Regions from separate parts of the Homo sapiens genome. Here region 1 is linked to region 2. The links are contacts of gene promoters, found by promoter capture Hi-C in blood cells and fetal thymus (Javierre and others, 2016). All regions are on one chromosome and are shown on one strand. Each heading gives the region's core, a stretch centred on a gene start or on the middle of the fragment in contact. The rest is flanking DNA. Distances are from core to core; before and after follow the strand shown. Region 1 overlaps KIFBP (kinesin family binding protein). Region 2 holds the start of VPS26A (VPS26 retromer complex component A).

Evidence for each region. The method cuts DNA at HindIII sites, captures the fragments that hold promoters and counts their contacts. A CHiCAGO score of 5 or more calls a contact.
Region 1: a contact is called between a fragment that was not itself captured here and the fragment with the promoter of VPS26A in region 2, in 6 of 17 cell types (monocytes, activated CD4 T cells, total CD8 T cells and 3 more). The highest score is 12.5, in monocytes.

Annotation. Positions count from the first base shown.
Region 1 is chr10:69,010,571-69,015,483 of GRCh38, reverse strand. KIFBP (kinesin family binding protein) reads right to left here. Exons shown (of 7, transcript NM_015634.4): 6 at 4,469-4,584. Among named protein-coding and RNA genes, the nearest start is that of KIFBP, 24 kb to the right of the region's middle. The HindIII fragment of the contact is 2,761 bases long and covers 1,361-4,121 here.
Region 2 is chr10:69,121,310-69,125,979 of GRCh38, reverse strand. VPS26A (VPS26 retromer complex component A) reads right to left here and starts at 1,802. Exons shown (of 9, transcript NM_004896.5): 1 at 1,700-1,802. The coding sequence starts at 1,702. RefSeq lists enhancers at 838-1,344, 2,209-2,568 and a silencer at 1,549-1,948. The HindIII fragment of the contact is 9,705 bases long and covers 1-4,670 here.

The DNA.
Region 1 (4,913 bases), core at 1,492-3,991, 110 kb after region 2:
TAATATTAAAGCAAACTTCAGAGTTTTTTAGAAGAGAAGTCTCTTACTTTCCAGCCTGGTTTAGAAGGGTATCATAATCTTAAACACCTTTGAAAACTTCTTTCTTTCTTCCGATTATATTAAAAACTCAAGAAATGTGGAAAAAAAAGTATTTAAATAGACAAGCTGCTTACATATCATTTATTCTGAGGAACTGAAATTTATTTACAGTTACTCCTTCCAATAAGATAAATGCTACATGTAAAAGTACTTTGAGAATTGTGAAACATTATATATATGTGATACATTACTCCCAGCACTTTGGGAGGCCAAGGCGGACAGATCACGAGGTCAGGAGTTGAAGACCAGCCTGGCCAACATAGTGAAACTCTGTCTCTACTAAAAATATAAAAAATTAGCCAGGCATGGTGGCAGGCGCCTGTAATCCCAGCTACTTGAGAGGCTGAGGCAGGAGAATCGCTTGAACCCAGGAGGCAGAGGTTGCAGTAAGTGGAGATTGCGCCACAGCACTCCAGCCTGGGTGACAGTGCAAGACTCCATCTCAAGAAACAAACAAACAAACAAAAAGACTGTAATCTACATCATAAAAATGTTTCACAAGGATGCCATTAAGATTAATGCTACCATGTTTATGCTATTAGTTATTTAGTGAAATATATCAGACAGAAATGCTCTAGGTCTCTTAAAGACATCAAAGTGAACAAAGAGTTAAATCTACCTTCCTAGTTAAAGTTTTATCTCCTCTACCTCTTGGGGGTGGGGGGGGGCAAATAAAAAAAGAAAGAATAACTAAGGTGGTTAAGAAATAGGGTAAGCTCTTCTTGGCCAATAAAAATAAATAATAGATCCCAAGGCCTTTTCTTCTTTTCACTTGACACTGTCTCACCAATGATCTTTCCACAAACCCTTCAAGGTTTCCAAATGCTCAGAAGATGAAGACAACAATGCTTCAAAGCCTTGATTGCTCCAGCCCCTTTCTAACTCTAACTTTAGCTTATATCACACTCCCTCTCCCTCAGCTCCAACCTCACAGCCTTTGCTCCATCCCTTCTGATATCATCCTCCCTTACGCCACAGAACTTCTAAACATGTTGCTTCAGCTCCTTGACATGGTGTGCCTTCTTTTCTTCAGTCTAGGTAACTCCTACTTACTCATCCCCAGAGCTTGCTTGTTATTTCCTCCTATTGTGCCTTCTCATATCATGTGTCTCTCCTTTGTGGAACTTAGCAAAATTGTACTTTTACATGAAGTTAAAGGCTAGGTTCATTTTTGTTCATCATAGTATCCTTGGCCAATGACTAGCACAGGGTTGGCATAAATAAATACTTAATTGAATAAATTTATGTATGTCTTAAAGCTTGAACTGAAGAAGGTCTTTCAGATAAATATACAGATGATAAAGGATGAAGTTAAGGTTAAAAAATAAAGTCAGGGGTGAGCGCAGTGGCTCACACCTGTAATCCCAGCACTTTGGGAGGCCGACGTGGGTGGATCGCTTGAGCTCAAGAGTTCAAGACCAGCCTGGGCAACATGGTAAAACATCGTCTCTAACAAAAATACAAAGAATTAGCCGGGCACAGTGGCACACACCTGTTGTCCCAGTTACTTGGCAGGCTGATGTAGGAGGACTGCTTGAGCCAGGGAGGTGGAGGATGCAGTGAGTGGAGATCATGCCACTGCACTCCAGCCCGGGTGACAGAAACCCCATCTCAAAAAACAAAACTGGGTTTAAGGAAAATCTGAGTAGTTTAGTAGCATGGCAAATATGTGAGTTTAAACTAACCAAGTGATGAAGTTTTAAGTTCCCAGACTAGAAACATCAACTAAATGAAAGGTAAGGGTCAAATCATAGTGCGATTTGCTTGACACAATTACTTCAAATGTAGATCATAAGTCTCTAAATCTTGTATACTTCCTTCCTTCTTGGGCTGCTTGTTTACTTACATGTTCTCTCTAGGATGCTTATTTAAATTAGCCTACTGTTTTGCTCCAATAGTCCCTGCAACCCTCCTTTTCCAGCTTTCTTTACCTGACCAGAATAAACTTGACAGCTCTTCCTGGCTCCAAATTCTCTACACATAAAGCCCCACAGTTATTCTCCCTACTTCCTGTCTTTCCTTAATATGCCTCCTCTTTACCCTCTGACCTCTAAAATTATCTTCATCTTTTCAAGACCTATGCTTCTGATGTGTTGAGGTTTGTTTGTTTGGTTTTCTTTCGTTTAGTAGTTTCACAAGGTTCTATATTATTTACCACTGATATGGTTTGGATTTGTGTCCCTGGCCAAATCTCACATTAAATTGGAGGAGGGACCTGGTGGGAGGTGACTGGATCACTGGGGGCAGATTTCCTCCTTGCTGTTCTTGTGGTAATGAGTGAGCTCTCTCATGAGATCTGATGGTTTTGAAGTGTGTGGCATTTCCCCCTTTGCCCTCTCTCTCTCTCCTGCTTGCCATGGTAAGACATGCTTGCTTCTCTTTCGCCTTCCGCCATGATTCTAAGTTTCCTGAGGGCTCCTAGTCATGCTTCCTGTTAAGCCTGAGGAACTGTGAGTCAATTAACCTCTTTTCTTCATAAATTACCCAGTCTCAGGTAGTTCTTTTGTTTTGTTACCCAGGCTGGAGTGCAGTGGTGCAGTCTTGGCTCACTGCAACTTCTGCCTCCTGGGCTCAAGTGATTCTCCTGCCTCAGCCTCCCCAGTAGCTGGGACTATAGGTGCACACCACCATGCCTGGCTAATTTTTTGTATTTTTGGTAGAGACAGGGTTTCAACATGTTGTCTAGGCTGGTCTCAAACTCATGGGCTCAAGTGATCCACCCACCTTGGCCTCCCAAAGTGCTGGGATTATAGGCATGAGGCGCTGTACCTGGCCTCAAGTAGTTCTTTATAGCAGTGTGAGAACAGACTAATACAACCACTAAAGATTATTATACTTTTATCAAGCAGAGTCCCATGTAAAAAAAAAAAATTATCATACTTTAATACACAATATAAAAAAATAAAAGCACAATGAATCCCCCAGGAAATCTTCCTATGTATCTACACTTAGTATATTGCATCTAAATGATTAATTTTATTATCCTCCCTAGTGCTTAGAAACTAGGATTGGGCATAAATTAATAATGATGATGGTAGTTAACATTTATTAAGGACTTAGTATGTCTCAGGCACTTTTCCGAGGCCTTAATATATACTGACTTAACTCCCATAACAACAGTATTAAGTACTATTATCTCCAACTTACTTGTGAGGAAATAGAGGCAAAAATATATTAAGTAAATTGCCACAAAGACATAGCTACGAAGCGGCAGAGCTGGAGTTCATACCTACCTAGTGTATTTCAAGTCCATGCTCTTCACTGCCATCAGTTCTGCTTCTATTTTTGAACTATTACATGAGCTATTTCTTAAAAGTCTACCCTTTTAGATTTTATCAAGTCCATGCTGTGTGTAAGATAACACTGGGAAGTATATAAAGATTAGTAAGGGCTTGGCCAGGTGTGGTTGCTCACACCTGTAATCCCAGCACTTTGGGAGGCCGAGATGGATGGATCACTTGAGGTCAGGAGTTCGAGACCAGCTTGGCCAAAATGGTGAAACCCCATCTACACTAAAAAGACAAAAATTAGCCAGGCATGGTGGCAGGCACCTGTAATCCCAGCTACTCAGGAGGCTGAGGCAGGAGAATCCTTTGAACCCAGGAAGCAGAGGTTGCAGCTGCGATCACACCACTGCACTCCAGCACGGGCGACAGAGCAAAACTCCGTCTCAAAAAAAAAAAAAAAAAAAAAAAAAAAAAGATTAGGCACAGTGGCTCACACCTGTAATCCCAGCACTTTGGGAGGCCAAGGCAGGAAGATCACTTGAGCCCAGGAGTTCAAGACCAGCCTTGGCAACACAGTGAGAGCCAGTCTCTACAAAATAATTTAAAAATTAACTGGATATGGTGGCACACGCCTGTACTCCAAGGATGAGGTGGGAGGACTGCATGAGCCGGGGAGACCAAGGTTGCAGTGACCCATGATCACGCCACCACACTCCAGCCTGGGAAACAGAGCGAGAGCCTGTCTAAAAAAAAAAAAAAAAAGAATATGATATCGTTCCCAGCTCTCAAGAAGCTTATATTCTAACCAAAGAAAAGTCTTCAAGGAAGAGGTAGTATTTAAGATAGGCCTTGAATGATGAGTAAGATTTATTTTATTTATTTATTTATTTAGAGATGGAGTCTCGCTCTGTTGCCCAGGCTGGAGTGCAGTGGTCCAATCTCGGCTCACGCAGCCTCTGCCTCCCGGATTCAAGCAATTCGAAGAATACGATTTAAAACCAAGAAAGAAATATTTACGAAAACATTCTACACACCTTTCATATTAAACACAATGTGACCCCAATGAGCACAATCCCCACTATGAGTTTTTACTTACAATTTCCTCATTTAAGAAAGAAAAAGGCAGCTTCTGACTGCATTACCTGCATGGAGAGTTGGGCATTCTGCATGAGAGTCAAACAGTATTTGATCCAGCACCTTGCTATTTCCCCCTTTCTTTGATGATAAAGCTCTGGCACTTCTCCTTCAGCTTCAGGAGCTAAAATATACATGTGATTTGTTTAAGTTAATGGTCACAACTGTAATTTTCATTGGGTACTGTAATTTTTTTAATATCACTTTTTCCTGACTATAAAAGTAACAGATCTTTACTGAAGCAGGGGGCTTGGGGAAAAGGGAAGAAAGATCCCCCCCCAAATCCTACTACCCAGAAGCACTCACTATTATTTTTGCATATTTCTTTCTCGCACCACAAACACTTTACTCATATCATTATCAACTCTTAGCTTCATTTTTAAGTACACCATTATATACAATTAAATAGATATTCTATTATTTAACCATTCTTCTAATTCTAACCTGGAATTT
Region 2 (4,670 bases), core at 553-3,052:
AACCTCCTATCACTGACTTTAGGTTAATTTAGGATTTTTCATATAATTTCTGAACCCAATATTGAGCATTACCAATTAGCAAAAATACATGGTAGATACATAAAAAGGCAACTTTTTAGTCCCCACTGAAGGAATTTCACTAAGTCCAGTGGATGTAAAGAAATGCAACTCATTGCATTTCTGAGGTGGAAGGCTGACTCTCAAAATTCATTCACTTAGCCCATACACAAGCAATGAAACAGCAAATTTTCATACATATATTACATCTGTGACCATTTCAGTGTTTTAAAGTTTTACAATTTAGTTTCTGTTTGGGTAACTTGAAAATATAAACTGCTCTTGAACATAATTCAAAAAAGCGTATTAAAAGTAATAATTACAAATGTAAGCAAAAAATAGGAGGACCTTTTAAGTTTTCTTTTCAAATGATATTCAATTAAAGAAGCCTGCCCTAACACTGACTAGGCAAGGTCCCCCAATACTTCCTTCTTAGTATCTGTCACAATTCTAATTTCCACGTTAAACAAATAATTTACACAAATAAATGTTTATCTCTCCCTACATTGTAAGCTACGAGAGCAGGTAGGCGCTGTTTCCATTTTACTGGGGTCCCCTAGGCACACCTGAGCAATTATTTGTTGAATGAAAGAAAAAAAGCTCTAAGAATGAACATGAATGTCTGGATTTTGTTTTGTTTTGTTTTGAAAGCAACATCATTACTGAAATTAAAAGTTATTTATTCAAAGTAGCTTTTTAAAAATATACCTGGCTCGGCCTTTTAAGCCAAAAGTCTCAAGCAGTCTATTGAATCAGTGAGCTTTGGGAAGAGCAGGTAGTATTAGGAGAGCATACAGTAGGCGCTAAATGAAGAGAACTGACGACTACTACCAGAAAATGGGTAAAATGAGATCTAACCTAGAGACTGCCGACACCCAGCTAAATACCACAATGCCCAGGCTAGTGCTTCCGCGGACTGTGGTGAGAGCACTGATTCCCCTCCCTCCTCTGCCTCATAGGCCGTTTCAACAACCCAGAGCGTTAAGTTCAGCGAAATAGCTTGCGGACGGAAATGAGAGCCAATGCTTAAAACGGCGGGCACCAAACGGGTGTCTCTGGAGTTAAAGATATCCCCCATTCCAACGTCCTTTTATTTTTCTCTCCCATTTTACAAGTGTCAACAGAAAGCCTGAACTGGGGTCATGAAATCAAAGAATGTCACCATAGTCAGGTTTTAAAATATCAGAGTTTATCAAGTTCGTGACACACTGAGTGCCCAAGTCCCCCGAAGAGTCCGGAGGTGGGGGGCTCCCGGGTCGCCCCACCTGGATGGAAGAGAGGCTGCCCGGGAGGAGAACAGGGACTGGCTACCTAGGAAGGGGAGGCGGCGACCAGCCCCCGCAGAGGCGGGGTCCGAGTCCCCAGCCAGAGCCCCAACAAGCAGTCGAAGAACGCGGGCAGAGGCTCCGACATGGCCAGGAGAGCACGCCGCCGCCCGTAGGTGCTCGGGCCTCGCCGAGACCGGGAAGAGGTGGCGCCGCCAGCTTTTCCCAGACCCAGGGGTGGCCCGACAGGCCTAACCCCGCTCCCCGCCCTGCTCCCCCGTCCCCTCCTCCGGCGACGCCCGGCCCGCGGTTGGCCGGCCCGCCGCGCGCTCCGGGACGAGGGCGGGAGGCGAGCGCGCTGGCCGCCGCGCACTCACCATTGTCAACGCCGCCGCCGCGTCCCCCCTACTCCACTCCTCTTCCCTCAGGAGAACTCCCAGCCCCGGCTCCCTCCGCTCCGGCGCTCCGTCACGTGACCTCGGGCCGCCCCTCACACGTGACCGCTCCCTTCCTCTCCCCCACCCCCGCACCCGTCCCTCTCCCAGCCTCCTGCCCCGCCCTGCTGGCCGCCAGGCACTCCGGGGAGAGGCCGCTTGGAGGCGGGGCCTCAGGCTCCACCCTTCGGAGGGTGGAGAGGGGCGGGCAAATTACGTCGAGTGGGCGGGGCCTGAACAGAGGCGGGTTCGCGGGCTCCTCCTCGCCGTCTCTTCGGTCACCGGACGAGCGGTTCCGTGTCCGGCCTCTTTACCGCACCCAGTTCCTCTTTGTGAAAGTTTGAGCGGCTGGGAAGGAAGGAGGAGAGGAAGGATTCATCTGGAGGCTCTCTCCTTGGCTGGGTCCTTGGGTTGCCGAGGCGAGTGGGAGCCCTACTTCCTTAGGCCTCGCAAGAAGAGATGTGCTCTCTTCGTCCACGGCGAGGCGTTCTGCCACCTTGCCTGAACGCAGTCCCGCTCCACCTCCTTCTGAGTCTGGGTTTTCTTAACTTGGCTTTCTCGCCTCTGAAGAGAAGACCAGTAGAAAAAAATCCTAGGGTACAACTTTCATTGCTTCCCAAAGTCCCCAGATGGCCCCTGAGCGACCCACCCTGAGCCTGGAGGGCTCACAAACCCACCGTTCCGCCCAGCCGTTCTGAGAGGGCAAAGGCGCTCCCCCGAAAGTCCCACGGCGCAGCTGAAGACTACGCTGGCCTGAACTGGATCCTCCTCCCTAGTGTAAGCCTATAGGACCTCCAGATGAGGAAAATACTGTGTGGGATTTCAGAGTATAGTGTTGAAGGGCCACAGTGCACTCTATGCATAACCAAAGCAGAAGAAAAATCCATCCCTGAACGCACTATAATTACCCCACCTTAAAACAGAAGTTTGTGAGGCGAGTCCATGAAACAGGTATCAAAAAAAATTTTTTTATACTTAATCCTCAGTGTGAGCCTCAAATTTAAGAGGATTGAAATCAGAGTATCATCTCTAACCGCAATAGAATTAAAATTAGAAATCAACCCAAACAAGCCAGAAAATTCCGGAAATATTGGAAATTAAGCAACATAATTCCAAATCTCTAGGTCAAAGAAGAGATCAATGGAAATTTAAAAATAAGTTGAGGCCGGGCACGGAGGCTCACACTTGTAATCCCAACACTTTGGGAGGCCAAGGCAGGTGGATCACCTGAGGTCAGACACGAGTATCTCTTGAATCCGGGAAGCGGAGGTTGCAGTGCCCGAGATGGAGCCACTGCACTCCAGCCTGGGCGACAGAGCAAGACTCTGTCTCAAAAATAAAAAATAATAAAAATAAAATAATTTGAAATAAAAGATAATAATACAACATATCAAATTTGTGGAATGCAGTGACACTGTGTAAAAGGAAAATTTGTAGCTTTAAATGCACATATTTGGGCCAGGCATGGTGGCTCACAGTCTATAATTCCAGCACTTTGAGAGGCCGAGGCGGACGGATCACTTGAGGTCAGAAGTTTGAGACCAGCCTGGCCAACATGGCGAAACCCCGTCTCTACTAAAAATACAAAAATCAGCGGGGCATGGTGGTGCACGTCTGTAATCCTAGCTACTCGGTAGGCTGAGGCAGGAGGATCACTTAAACCTAGGAGGCAGAGATTGCAGTGAGCCAAGATTGCGCCACTGCACTCCAGCCTGGTGACAGAGCGAGACTCCATCTCAAAAAAAATAAATAACTATAGTAACACTGATATTGTTGTCTGTTTGAACTGTGAAAAGAAAGCAGCAAAAACAATGCAAATCTTTAATTAATAAAAGTGAAAAATGGTTTTTTTCACTTAGAAGATTTGCCTGTCACCTTGAGAGCTACTCTGGTTCCTACCCACTCTTTTCTGGGACTTAAATATCAACATAACAAAGAGAATAGATGAAAATGCCACACAGGCAAAGAAATACTAGCGAAGCCAGGTATAAATAAGAGGTGGCAAAGAAAGTCACACTAGAAACCAATTTGTACTAATTATTTATTCTACTGATCAAAACCCAATCAATAATTGTGCTATCATAATAAATACAAGAAGCAACAGAATTGTTGAGCTAGTTATTTGTCTGTCTGCCTACCTATCAATCTATTCAGCAAGCCAGAATGTTAGAGCTAGATTGTGAGCAGTACAGTGTTTCACCAGCTGAGAACTGTGGCATCTCTATATTTGCCCTCTGCCAAAAAAAAAAAAAAAAAAAAGGTGGGGTGTGTGAGGAAAATGTGACTAACTTACAGGGATTGACTTTCATCAACAAAAGTACCGAGTTTAGGTCAGAAAGTATTAGATGATAAGATAATCTGAGCTTTTATCAATCAGAAACCAGTTAAGAGAAAAATAGTCATTTGTTCAAATTCACAAAGACTAAAAATTCACATTAATAACTGTGAGAGTGTCAGGGAGCAGCTGTTTGCAGAGTTCACTGGCAAAGTTAAGGGAAGAGAATAAAATACAAATACACAAAAAGGATAAAGAAAGAAAATACAATTTAGGCCGGGCGCAATGGCTCACACCTGTAATCCCAACACTTTGGGAGGCTGAGGTAGGTGGATCACTTCAGCCCAGGAGTTTGAGACCAGCCTGAGCAACATGGTGAGACCTTGTCTCTTGCAAAAGAACAAAAATTAGCTGGGAGTGGTGGCATGTGCCTATTGGACCAGCTGCTCAGGAGGCTGAGGTGGGAGGATAGCTTGAGCCAGGGAGGCAGAGTTTGCAGTGAGCAGAGATTGCACCACTGCACTCCAGCCTGAGCAACAGAGCGAGACCCTGTCTCAAAAAATAAATAATAAATTAATTTAATTTAAAAATAAAATACAATTTAAAGCATGCCAGTGAAGTATAGAAACACTTTTTTCT